Regions from separate parts of the Homo sapiens genome. Here regions 1, 2 and 4 are each linked to region 3. The links are contacts of gene promoters, found by promoter capture Hi-C in blood cells and fetal thymus (Javierre and others, 2016). All regions are on one chromosome and are shown on one strand. Each heading gives the region's core, a stretch centred on a gene start or on the middle of the fragment in contact. The rest is flanking DNA. Distances are from core to core; before and after follow the strand shown. Region 1 overlaps RARB (retinoic acid receptor beta). Region 2 overlaps RARB (retinoic acid receptor beta). Region 3 holds the start of LINC00692 (long intergenic non-protein coding RNA 692). Region 4 overlaps TOP2B (DNA topoisomerase II beta).

What was found. The method cuts DNA at HindIII sites, captures the fragments that hold promoters and counts their contacts. A CHiCAGO score of 5 or more calls a contact.
Region 1: a contact is called between a fragment that was not itself captured here and the fragment with the promoter of LINC00692 in region 3, in 1 of 17 cell types (total B cells). The highest score is 5.2, in total B cells.
Region 2: a contact is called between a fragment that was not itself captured here and the fragment with the promoter of LINC00692 in region 3, in 1 of 17 cell types (naive CD4 T cells). The highest score is 5.5, in naive CD4 T cells.
Region 4: a fragment that was not itself captured here is called in contact with the fragment with the promoter of LINC00692 in region 3 in 3 of 17 cell types (activated CD4 T cells, non-activated CD4 T cells and total B cells); the score reaches 8.1 in activated CD4 T cells.

The regions. Positions count from the first base shown.
Region 1 is chr3:25,567,468-25,570,551 of GRCh38, reverse strand. It overlaps RARB (retinoic acid receptor beta), which reads right to left. Exons shown (of 8, transcript NM_000965.5): 4 at 634-794. Among named protein-coding and RNA genes, the nearest start is that of TOP2B, 96 kb to the left of the region's middle. RefSeq lists an enhancer at 1,737-2,238. The HindIII fragment of the contact is 3,344 bases long and covers 1-3,084 here.
Region 2 is chr3:25,586,331-25,589,122 of GRCh38, reverse strand. All of the region lies in intron 5 of RARB (retinoic acid receptor beta), which reads right to left. Among named protein-coding and RNA genes, the nearest start is that of TOP2B, 77 kb to the left of the region's middle. The HindIII fragment of the contact is 2,938 bases long and covers 1-2,783 here.
Region 3 is chr3:25,872,032-25,875,021 of GRCh38, reverse strand. It overlaps LINC00692 (long intergenic non-protein coding RNA 692), which reads left to right and starts at 1,327. Exons shown (of 8, transcript NR_034055.1): 1 at 1,327-1,381; 2 at 2,540-2,707. It overlaps LOC124909357 (a long non-coding RNA gene), which reads right to left and starts at 1,244. Exons shown (of 2, transcript XR_007095849.1): 1 at 1,019-1,244. The HindIII fragment of the contact is 8,581 bases long and covers 1-2,990 here.
Region 4 is chr3:25,611,612-25,614,620 of GRCh38, reverse strand. TOP2B (DNA topoisomerase II beta) reads left to right here. Exons shown (of 36, transcript NM_001330700.2): 28 at 1,912-2,106. Among named protein-coding and RNA genes, the nearest start is that of TOP2B, 52 kb to the left of the region's middle. The HindIII fragment of the contact is 469 bases long and covers 1,337-1,805 here.

The DNA.
Region 1 (3,084 bases), core at 184-2,683, 300 kb after region 3:
TGAAAGGCCATTCCTAGTGGAACGCTGGGAAGCAGAGGGGGAACATTCACTCAACTGGGCATGGGGCATGCCTACCCCAAACTTTTCTAGGCCCTGGCTTGGGGGTTTTGTACATGTCCTCTCACAGAAGGCAAACCTTGGCCCAGGGGATGGCCTCTTTATCTTGGTTGGATTTCACAGATGGATTGGGGTTTTTAAAAGATCAGGCCCCGTCCCCCTGGGTCCCTCCGTACAGAGGTCCGTCATGACCCATGTAACGCTTCACTGGCTTTACTTGTTTCCTTCACCAGATCAAAGTCTCTGAGAGCAGCACTGAATAGTTCATGTTGCCAGGGCTTAGAACACAGCCTGTCGTATAGCAAATACTCAGTTAATGCATCTAGAGTGAATGCATGTGTGCATGACTGCAGTGAGGCGGCACTCAGCCTACTCACTGATTGCCCACGCCCAAAGGCTACCTCACAGAAAGAAGTGGCTACTACATAGCCCCAGCTGGCTAGCATGCAAGCCCCTGCCAGGCCCAGTGCAAAGTGTGTGTGTGTGTGTGTGTGTGTGTGTGTGTGTGTGTGTCTGCACACATGCACGTACAAGGTTTCCACACTCCCAGCAGCCTGGGGCAGGAGTATCTCTTACCGTGGTGTATTTACCCAGCTGGCAGAGTGAAGGGAAAGTTTCCTGGTGAGCTTTTCGGATCTTCTCTGTGAGATCGTCCAACTCAGCTGTCATTTCATAGCTCTCTGTGCATTCTTGCTTCGAAGTCTCCTTCTTTTTCTTGTTCCTGTCATTCCTGACAGCTGGAAACGAGAGAGAAGGCACATCAGGGGTCGCTGAAGGCTGGGCCTGTGCTCCTGAGCTGGGAGGTTCCACCTCCCAAGGCTGCCTTAAGCTCATTTGATATTTGGGACAGAAACAGTGGGAAGAGGTGGTAATAACACACCTCCCTGGAAAAGGGATTTGGCAGCCGCGGGACCCCGGCAGAGAGCTAGGTTTGTCTTTCTGTATATGCATGTGCCCGTCAGTTGTTTGGAGAGCTTGGGCTCACCCAGGAGGCTCAGAGTCTTGGCTTGTTGTGAGAGAACTTTTTCTGTGGACTGGATCTCTTGAAGAGAGAAGGATTTTTCCAAGAGCTTTACCCTCAAATGGGATGCCCTGAGTGACATTGTAAGGGAAGGGTCAGGTCTCTGAACAAAGCCCCGTTACTTCATAATTAGTATTTCCTAGCTACACATTTTGGTGTCTTTGCTTTTTAGTTTTCTGAATTAAGTGACAGGCACTTTTGAAGAAACTCATCTGAGAGGAGATAAGGATGATGGTTTTTGTCCCTTCGTGTTTTTCTGCTTTCTAAACTTTCTGTATGAACCATATTATCTGTTTTGGAATATAAAATTACTTAAAAATAATAATTGATACAGTATGAAATCTTCAGCCTGGAAAACCATTCATTCCCTTATTCGCTGGTAGCCACTTGACTCCACGTTGTGTCTGGAACACTGGACCCACAGCAGGTGTGTGTCCTTTCCCTCTGCATGCTCCGAGCCAAGCACGGTGCCAGGCACAAAGTCAGGGCCCAGGACACAGTGCTATGGAAGCCCGTGCTTCCTCCTGCAGCACAGACCTCTGGGATGACTTCAAATCCGAGTGTAACTCAAAGCTCTAGCCCCTGGCTAGGATCTCGCGAGGAAAGAAACTGAAACCCAGGGAGGCAGACAGGCGAAACAGACCATGCCACCCCCTCCAGGGAGTCCATGTTCTCTGGGGCCCAGCGGGTGCCAGGCTGGATGCTGCCTGGCTGTGCATGCCACCACTGTGACCTGGGAATCTGCACTGCAAAATGACCCAGGGCATAATCTGATCTGCCCTAAGAGGATCTGGCCTGAGTTGCCTCCCTAAGAGCACACGGGTGATTTGAGAACTGGCAGTTCCCTGGGTCCACACCATGAGAATACCCATATTTGGGGTAGGAGCTGAGGGCAGAGTAAGACAATAGCAGGAGGAGAGAGGAAGTGGTGAAAGGAAAGAGCAAGGGGTGAGAAGGGGGAAGAAAGGAAAAAAGGGAGGTGAGTCCTACTACAAAGTCAGTGTCTGTACGAGCCACTCCTACCTAACCAGGAGGGAGGGCAGCTGGGGAGACCAGGAACATTTTTTTGAGTCCCTTGAACATGGTATCACGGTATCTCACTTGATCCTTTTATCAGGTAGGCAAGTTTAAACCCATTTTACAGATGAAGAAACTGAGTCTTGGAGAAGCTAAGAAATATGCTCAAGTTCACGTGGTTGAGAAGTTCCTTCCTCACTTGGACTCACTTACTTATTCCTAAGGAAACCAACAGGTCTGAAGAGAACACCCTTCTAGACAGTTTCCTTCCCCCAGGACTCTGAAATGACACTGCTCATTGGCTCAGAAAATTTCTAGATCACTGGTGAAATGAGTGGGAAGTGCAGCCTCAGCTGTATTCTTTCCCAGTGCAGACTGGCCCCTCGAGACCTCTGTGACCCGATCCCTCCCAGCCGGCGCAGGACGCTGGGTGAGAGTGGGTATCATGGTTCAAAGCAGAGAGAATGCAAAGAAGCCGGCGGGCAAAGGAGACACAATGAGGGGGAAAGGGGTCATGCAGGGTGGCAGAGGCGGCATGGTGGCTCTCCGTGAGGATGGAGTCTGGGCTGCTGAGGGGAGGGAATGCCTGAAGGCTTGTGTGTGAGTGCGCAGGATCTCAGGTGATCAGACCCCCCTCTTTTCCTCGGCCTCTGCCAATGGCCTTCCTTAGCTAGTGAAAAAGTCAAATCTAAGCAGGGAGGGTCCTTCTGAAACAGAGCCCCGAGGAAGAGTACTCGGCAGTTTTTCTCAAAGTTATACGCAGAGGTACCATGTGACGCAGCAATTCCTCTCCTAGGTGTACACCCAAGAGAACTGAAAATATGTGTCTATGCAAAACTTGTCCATGAATGTTCATGACAGTGTGACTCACGGCAGTTGAAAAGTGGAAAGAACCCAAATGTTCATCACCCGATGACGGGGAAGTGGAATCTAGGACGTCCTTATGGTGGAATATTATTTGTCATAGAAAGGAATGAATTATGGATGCA
Region 2 (2,792 bases), core at 65-2,564, 290 kb after region 3:
TTCTATCCCACCACCCTTTTGGTTTTTGGAATAAGAAATAACATTGTTTTAAAACTGAGGTATAACGTGTGGTGGTTTAAAAATATGTGTGCAAATTCTTTGATCCTACTCCCTTTAAGGGGTGGAGCTTAATTCCTCTCCCCTTGAGTGTGGCCTGGACTTAATGATTTGCTTTTAACAAATAGAATATGGTGAAAGTGATGGTGTGTGACTTCTGAAACTAGGTCACAAAAAGCATTGTCACTTCCTTCTTGCTTGCTGTCTCTTGAATCTCTTGCTCTGGGGAAGCTAGCTGACATTTCAAGAGGACAGTTAACCAGCCCCACGGACAGGTCCACAGAGGAAGAAACTGAGTCCTCCCATCAATAACCAGCACTAAATTCCTAGACAAATGTGATGAGCGATTGTGGAGGCGGAGAGCTTCCAGCCTCTGGAATTCTTTAGATGACTGCAGCTCTGGCCGGGGTCTTGATTGCTATTTCATGACAGATACCGAGCCAGAACCACCCAATGAAGTCAGTACCAGATTCCTGACCCACTGTGACTACGGGAGATAATAATGCTTATGTTTTAAGCTGCTAAGTTTTGTGGTATTTTGTTACACTGCAATAGATAATGAATATAGCACACATGCCTGGAGCTGCACACAAATCTCGAGTACAGCTTAAGGCATTCTCCCTAACCATGTATCTGTGCAACTACTACCTAGATCAAGATATGAATATTTCCAGCACCTACCGGCTCCTTTGACTTCTCCTAATCAAACCTCTTCCTCAGAAGTAACCATTATTTGACCTATATTCCTACAAGTTAGTTTTGCAAGTTCTTGAACTTCAGATCAATGGAATCATACAGAATATTCTCTTTTGTGTCCGCTTTTATTCACTCAATATTCTCTGTGTGATTCACCCATATGAGTGTACACAGCAATAGTTCATTCTTTTTCACTGCTGTGTAGTATTTCACAATGCAAACCACCACCCTGTTTTCTTTTCTTCATAGCAGTTGTCACCATCTGAGTTTCCTGGCCTATCTCCCTTCTAGAATATGAGCTCTGAGAATGAGACCGCTCTTTACCTGTCTTGCTCTCTGTTGTGTCTTTAATATCTAGAACAATGTCCTCCATACAGCAGGTGGTTAATGAATATTTATTGAATGAATAAACTGAATTCCTTCATCAGACTCTCTTCTATCTTGTAAACCTCAGAGGGAGGCATCAAGGGGTTGCCCAGTTTTCAGGCAAAGGAGAAAGCTCAGGTTGCTCAACCATCTTGGTCACTCTACACTGATTGTGTTTGGCAACATGTGGGCAGATCCTGATCTGATTCGACAATTTATCCCCATATGCCTGTGGGAATGTTTAGGTAGTGATACTAGTAACAATGTTTAAGTGGTGATACTAATAACAAAGACACACGCAGCGCATATAGTGCCTGTTGTGATGAGCTCATGGGAACAAAATGTTTTCCCCAATGGGACCTGTAGCCAGCCTGCCTTAACCGAGGAGAAAATACAGATGTTAGAAGCAGCAGGAGTTCCTTGTTACCGTTACTGTCTCTGTTTTGCAGACCAGTACTCTAGCAGCCATTGTTTTGCAATGTTAAGAGAAATAGATGGAATTATTTTAATAATCTATTTTAACTTAAGATATCCAAATTATTTTTGTTTCAACATGTAATCAATACAAAAAAATCATTAAGGAGATATTATACATGTTTAAATACTAAGTCTTTAAAAGACTGTTTATTTTGCAATACACACTTCACACCAGGCACATTTCAAGGTGCTCATGAGCCACAGCTGCCTCGCAGCTGCTGAACTAGACAGCACAGCCCCAGGTGCTATTGCCTAGCAGCTCAGACACCACACTTCATAAAGGCAGCCTAGGCTTACTCAAGACTGATGATTACAGCTTATTTAAAGGAACACTTACTATGTGCCAGGAACTAATTAACTCAATTCTTTATTCCAGCAACCTGAATGGGGAGGAGCTACTATTCTACTTATTCAATTGGTGAGGAAACTGAGGCTTAGAGAGGTCAGTTAGCTTCCCTAAGTTCACTCAGCTCCTAAATGGCAGAGCTGGGATTTGAATCCAGGGAGTTGGACTGCAAAGCCCACCCTCTTAACCGCTACACTGGCTACCCCACAGCAATTCCTGGTGCCTCATGGGGTAATCGTGCCACATCTACAGGTGGGTAAGCTGAGGCTAGGAGAGACCCAGGGCCTCCTCGTGATGGCACAGACGCCCAGGCGCAACGCTGAAGCCTGAGCTCAGGCTGTGGGTCTTTAAGCCCAGAGCTCGCTCCCCACCAGCCTGGGCTCTTGTCTCTACTGAGTCCCCAGGAAGGGGAGAGGGAGGGACAGGTTCACATGGGAACGGCCCTCCATGGCTATACAGCTGCACAGTCTCCAGGGCGTCAAGGAGCCACAAATCACATTTTGAAGTCACACAGGCCGTCACTTTTGCGTCACCAGAAGGAGGGTGCTGCTGTGACTGGCATGGGAATATTTTCCTTGGGGGCAGTAAGGGCAGTGGGTGGCAGGACTCAGGAAGCCGTGTGTCTTGTAGGGAAAGACATTAAATCTTGAAGCCTTAACAGGCGTGATATTCCAAAAGCAGCATATATGCTGGGATTTGAATTTTGACTTTTAATTCATTTGCTCATTCATCCATTCACAAATATTCACTAAATCCCCCTTTCGAGCCTGGAACCCTGCCACGGCGACCAACCCTAAGATGGTTCCTACTCTCACTGAGACAACAGACTGGGGGAGAAGCTTTTGGGAAA
Region 3 (2,990 bases), core at 78-2,577:
GCATAAATATACCTCCATCCTGATGGGAAGGAGACACCAATGGGAGCAAGTTAATAAAATTAAAACCTAAAAAGGACTGGGTAGAAGTGGGGTCAAGATAGGAAAGCCAAACATTCAGGTTTCCTCTGCATTCGCATCAATTATCTGTACGTCAAGTGGTAAAGGCAGCAGCTACGGAAGCTAAGCTAACAGTTATTGCCGGGCGCGGTGGCTCATGCCTGTAATCCCAGCACTTTGGGAGGCCGAGGCGGGCACATCATGAGGTCAGGAGATCGAGACCATCCTGTGAATGGTGAAACTCCGTCTCTACTAAAAATACAAAAAATTAGCCAGGCGTGGTGGCGGGCACCCGTAGTCCCAGCTACTCAGGAGGCTGAGGTGGGAGAATGACGTGAACCCGGGAGCAGAGTTTGCAGTGAGCCAAGATTGCACCACTGCACTCCAGCCTGGGAGACAGAGCGAGACTCCTCTCAAAAAAAAAAAAAAAAAAAAAAACAGTTATTAGAGGTAGTTCAAAGGCCTGGAGGCCAAACTTTGAAAGCAGAGGTGATGAAAGTCTTGGGTACCAGGGATCAAGAGCAAGTCAAGCATCTGAAACACAAAAAGGTCAACGCAGAGGTAAAGAGGACAACAGGATTTCAGTGGCCAAAGTACACATGAATACAGAATTGTGAATGTCATATGGAGCAAAACACTGGCAACAAGAATAAGAATGCAAGAATGTCTGATTTGTGAAAGAATCATGATATGTTATGAAAATTGATACTTTCTGATTTCTTCTATACATCTTACTAATTATAAATTATTCTGAGTTGACCAGTAAATGCAGAAAGTATTTAAACCAGCCAGAGCCCAGGAGTGTTCTGGATACAGGTGAGCTCTGTTGGCATCTGGAACAGAAGAACTGGATGTGGCAGATTGCACCTTCCAAAGATGATCACCATAGTATCTCCTATCTAATACGCTGTTCCGCAATATGACTTTGACATTTCCTCATCAAGAAGTGGAGTCTTATTACCTTACTCTGGGCTTGGCTTTACTGGCTTGTTGAACCAGCAGAATATGACAGAAGTGACACTCCAACCTCTGAAAAGACTGTAAAAACACCTTGCAATTTCTACCTGAGCCTCTTAAAAGGATCACTCTTGGGATGCTGTCTCTGAGGACTGTGGCCATATGAAAGGTCTCAGCCACATGAAAAGGTTATTGGTTGGTGTTCAGGCATGTAGCTCCAGCAGAACTCCTAGGAAACAGTCATCATCAACTGCCAGCCATGCCACATTCCAACTCAACTGAACCTTTAGACGAATGTAGCCCTAGCCTCTATTTGACTTCAACTACAAGAGAGATGCCAAGCTGAGACCAGTTAAGCCACAGAACTGTGAGATATAAAAATAAATTGTTATTTTAAGCCATGTGTTTCAAGGCGGCTTGCTATGTAGCAATAGATAATCAGTACCTAGGGTTACAGGGATGATTTTTTAAATTATCTCTATCTATGGCTAGTAATACTGGGGCCATGACACTTACAGTTATCAACTCCAGCAGACTCAGAAATTCACTCAGCTCCCCTACTCCACCCTTTTTGGTTCTCCAATAAAATGTTTGGTGATGGATGGCTCTGGAAGTTAAATGAGACTTGGTATTACCTGGGAAATTTTGATTTGCAGCAACTCCACAATGACTATTATTGCACATAACTGAGATGTGACTAGAGCCTGGAACAACTGAAAACGCAGAAAAGTCTGTATTATAAGACCAGGGTGGAGAGCAAGTACTGAAGATAACTGAGTGATCACTAAAATACATCAGAGAATCCACACTCTCGTGATAAGTGGCATTTGAAGGGAGAAATTTTCCAGAGAGATAAATGAGACCTTTCTCAATTAATATCAGTACTTGTGTTGCTTGTTATATTGTTGCATTTCCTCCTGAAATATTACAGGCACCAGGCTATTTCACTTACCTCCAAACCTTCAATTGTTTAGTCTCTGTTAATGCAAGGTCATAATGCAGAACACAGATCCTCAGTTTACAGTCAATCCTCAATTATTCAAGGCTTATGGAGTTACAGCGCAGTCCAGTAGATCTCTGCTTAAATATTGGTTTCATTGACATTTGGACACATCTGGAAATTCAGTCTGCTTAATTTTGATTTTGCTGACATCACAACTCAGTTATTTGAACTCTAAATACCTAATCACCTCTAGTGCAAGTTTGAGCTAGATGGACGGCAGGAGAGAAGTAAACATTTATAGATTGTCTTTTGCATTTTACATACATTATCTAATTTAGTCCCCACAGCAATTCAATGAGATATTACTATCCTTATTTCATAGAAAATGAAACTCAGGCTCAGAAAGTTCAACTTAAGTTTGCTTCCTTCCCCATTTTGTTGCTTAACAATATAATTAAGAGAATAGACTCTAGAATCAAACAGACTGGAATTATCTTTTTATCATAATATGTTTTTATTAAAATGAGTTTTTAAATGTATAGTTTATCTGTTTTTATATCTGGCAGTTTCTCTATGATTTAGCTTTCAGAAAAGTCATATTGTTCTCAAATGACCTAGCTTTTACCTTCGTTAACTCAAACCTGCACCCATCTGAAGTGAAACCAGCAACCATTTAACAGCAAACAGTAGCAGCAGCATGCACCAAAAGAGAATGGAAAGTGAAAAGAACACAACAGATCATTTTAAAAGGTACATGCCCTAGAATTTTTTGACAATGTTTGAGCGTGGTTCTCAAAACTACAATTCTATAAGTCAGTGAATGCTGAGTTTTATTTGGAAAGCATGGTCCCACCTTGTATAAAGAGAAAAAGCAGCCCTAGAATAACAGTACCAATTGTAAAGGGCTATTTCATGGCATCAATTAAAGCATGCATGCCATCGGTATAGTCTTTTGCCAAACATGGACCTTCAGTGTGGATACACGAATCTCTGCCAACTTAGCTTCATATTTTACATGAAATATGGATACAAC
Region 4 (3,009 bases), core at 322-2,821, 260 kb after region 3:
AAGTTGCTTTGTTGATTTATTGTCTACATGCTCTACTTTTACTTCAGTGGTCTAAGTCAGAATTAGAACTCTTAAGAACAAGTGTGGTAAATTAGCTGCCTAAAAGAATTTAGAATTTTTTAGTGCTATTTTTCTAGGCTCCCTCAACGATCTTTCAAGTGCTGCAATGTGAGTCTTCCTTTTTTTGTGCTTTCCGTATATTGTTCATTAATTAGTTTTTTTGCACATTGTTTCCTGCTGAGTTATAATTTATTTAAAAATTATTCATTAAAAATGAAGCCATCATATATTAAAAGAAAAATTATTCCTAATATTATTGATATCCTGATATTGCTTTAAATTTGGTCACTAATATAGTGAAACACAGGAAACTTTTGTGGTTATGCCTGTACATTTCCTCACTATTGAAAAGTCGTCATTCAAAACAACCCTAGCAAAAAATACTCTTTCACTTTTAATTTATCATCTTATTTTATTATTTGACAATTAATGAAATAGGTCCAAACAACTTATTTAAATTCTGGATGTATTTATTTTTAACATTTAAAAAGATTTAGACTTAAATTTCATGTCTCTCTGTATCATTTAAAGTCTAATGATAACATTAATTGAATATCTATTGTACACTGGCACAGCCTTCTATGTAATGCTTAGAGTGACCCTCACCACAACTTCAAATGAATGAGGTTATCATTAACCTGTATTATACAGATAAGGATCCTGAAGCTTGGAGAGGTTAAGTCACTTTCTTAGGAATTATATCATTATAGAATTACTCATCTTCTCAGACACCCACTTTCCTCATCTATAAAATGGGGATCACAGGATTTTTTAAATGCCTAGCACATGGTGGATGCTCTATAAATTATCTGGCTTTTTTGTTTTTTTTTTTTGAGACATGGTCTTGCTCTGTCACCCAGGCTGGAGTGCAGTGGTACAATCATGGCTCATTGCAGCCTCAACCACTTGGGCTCAAGCAGTCCTCCTACCTTAGTCTCCTGAGTAGCTGGGACATGTGTGCCACCACATCTGGCTAATTTTTGCATTTTTGTGTAGAGATGAGGTTTTGTTATGTTGCCTAGGCTGGTGTCAAACTCCTGGGCTCAAGTGATCCACCTACCTCAGCCTCACAAAGTGCTGGGATTACAGGTGTGAGCCACTGCAACTGGCCTCTGTTATTTCCTGAGGATACATAACTAGTAAGTGGAAGTGCAGTTGAAATCCAGAACTATCTGATTTCAAAGCTTGGGTAATTTCTATTAAACTGTTGTGCTACAAAGATCTTTTAAAAAAATCTCTAAAGAAATGTCATTTTTTCCTTGTGCCTTTCAAAGCTTATTTTAAGGAATAATTCTGGTAAATGCAAAATCTAGGATATTAATCATGATTATATCCTAATTTATCATTACATAGACCTGCCTGAGTTCAATCTAATTATATTGGCACTTTTAACTTCTCATACTTTCTGACTTTAATTTACATTTAGGAGGTTTTTTTTCATATTTTCTATTACGACTAAAGCAATAGAAAAAAATAACTTCATACTTATTAGCAGAACTGCCTTTGTATATGATTTGCTAGGATTTTGATGATACTAGGTTATCAGAGGTCTTGATTCCATAATATATCACGGGATCCAAGAATTGGCAGAGACTTCTCAGGTCATTTAGTCACTATTGCCCCCTCGTATTACAAATGGGAAACTAGTTAGATGAATTGGGATTACAATCCAGGTCTTCTGATTTAGAATTCTTTATTTTTTTTCCATTATTTAATCTTGAATTAGATAAGTTAAAAGGAAAGCTTTATTCTTTACTGAGTGAATAACATTTGTTTCAGTATTTTATGAAGTAGTGATTATCTTTTCTAAGAAGTTGTTTATGTTCCTTCTGCCTTATGATTATACTTTAGAAAGTGGAATCTCAAGAACGAGAAGATGTTCTGGCTGGAATGTCTGGAAAAGCAATTAAAGGTAAAGTTGGCAAACCTAAGGTGAAGAAACTCCAGTTGGAAGAGACAATGCCCTCACCTTATGGCAGAAGAATAATTCCTGAAATTACAGCTATGAAGGCAGATGCCAGCAAAAAGTTGCTGAAGAAGAAGAAGGTATGACATACCTCTTGTCATTGATAGACTCATTTCTATAATGAAATATATGTATAATTTAAAAAATTTTAATGCGTGTTTAAATCATGCTTTGTTTTATTCAAAATATATTTCAATGGTAATAGGAAATCCTTCTATGACAGCAGTTGATCTATAGAAGGAAAACATATTGGTAAAGGATCACATATTGTAAAGAGCTACTTAATTCAGCTTTTAAAATGAGAAATAGAAACACTCCACTCAGCTGCCTTCTAAGTTAAAATCTTGGAAGCCGGCCGGGCACGGTGGCTCACGCCTGTAATCCCAGCACTTTGGGAGGCTGAGGCGGGCGGATCATGAGGTCAGGAGGTCAAGACCATCCTGGCAAACATGGTGAAACCCCGTCTCTACTAAAAAATACAAAAAATTAGCTGGGCGTGGTGGTGGGCGCCTGTATCACAGCTACTTGGGAGGCTGAGGCAGGAGAATGGTGCGAACCCGGGAGGCGGAGCTTGCAGTGAGCCGAGATTGTGCCACTGCACTCCAGCCTGGTTGACAAGAGTGAGACTCCATCTCAAAAAAAAATAAATAAATAAAAATAAAAATCTTGGAAGCCAAAACAAAACAAAACAAAAACCTCCAAAAACCCAACCATAAGTATATCAACTTTAAAGTATAAACTTTAGTGCTACATCATAATCCATTAGAGAAGACTTAGAGTGGGAAAGGGTCTGTTTGGCTTACAAAGTACTCTGTCATCTTTTACTATTTACTTGTGTTTGTCCTTAAACTACCAAGCACATCCTGTGTCATTGGCACTGATAGGTGCTATTGAGGATTAAAAAAAAAAATGGCGTTGACCTAACCTCAAGCAGGATTGACCAGAGTTAGCCGGAAGAAGGAAACATCAGAAAAAATGTTCAG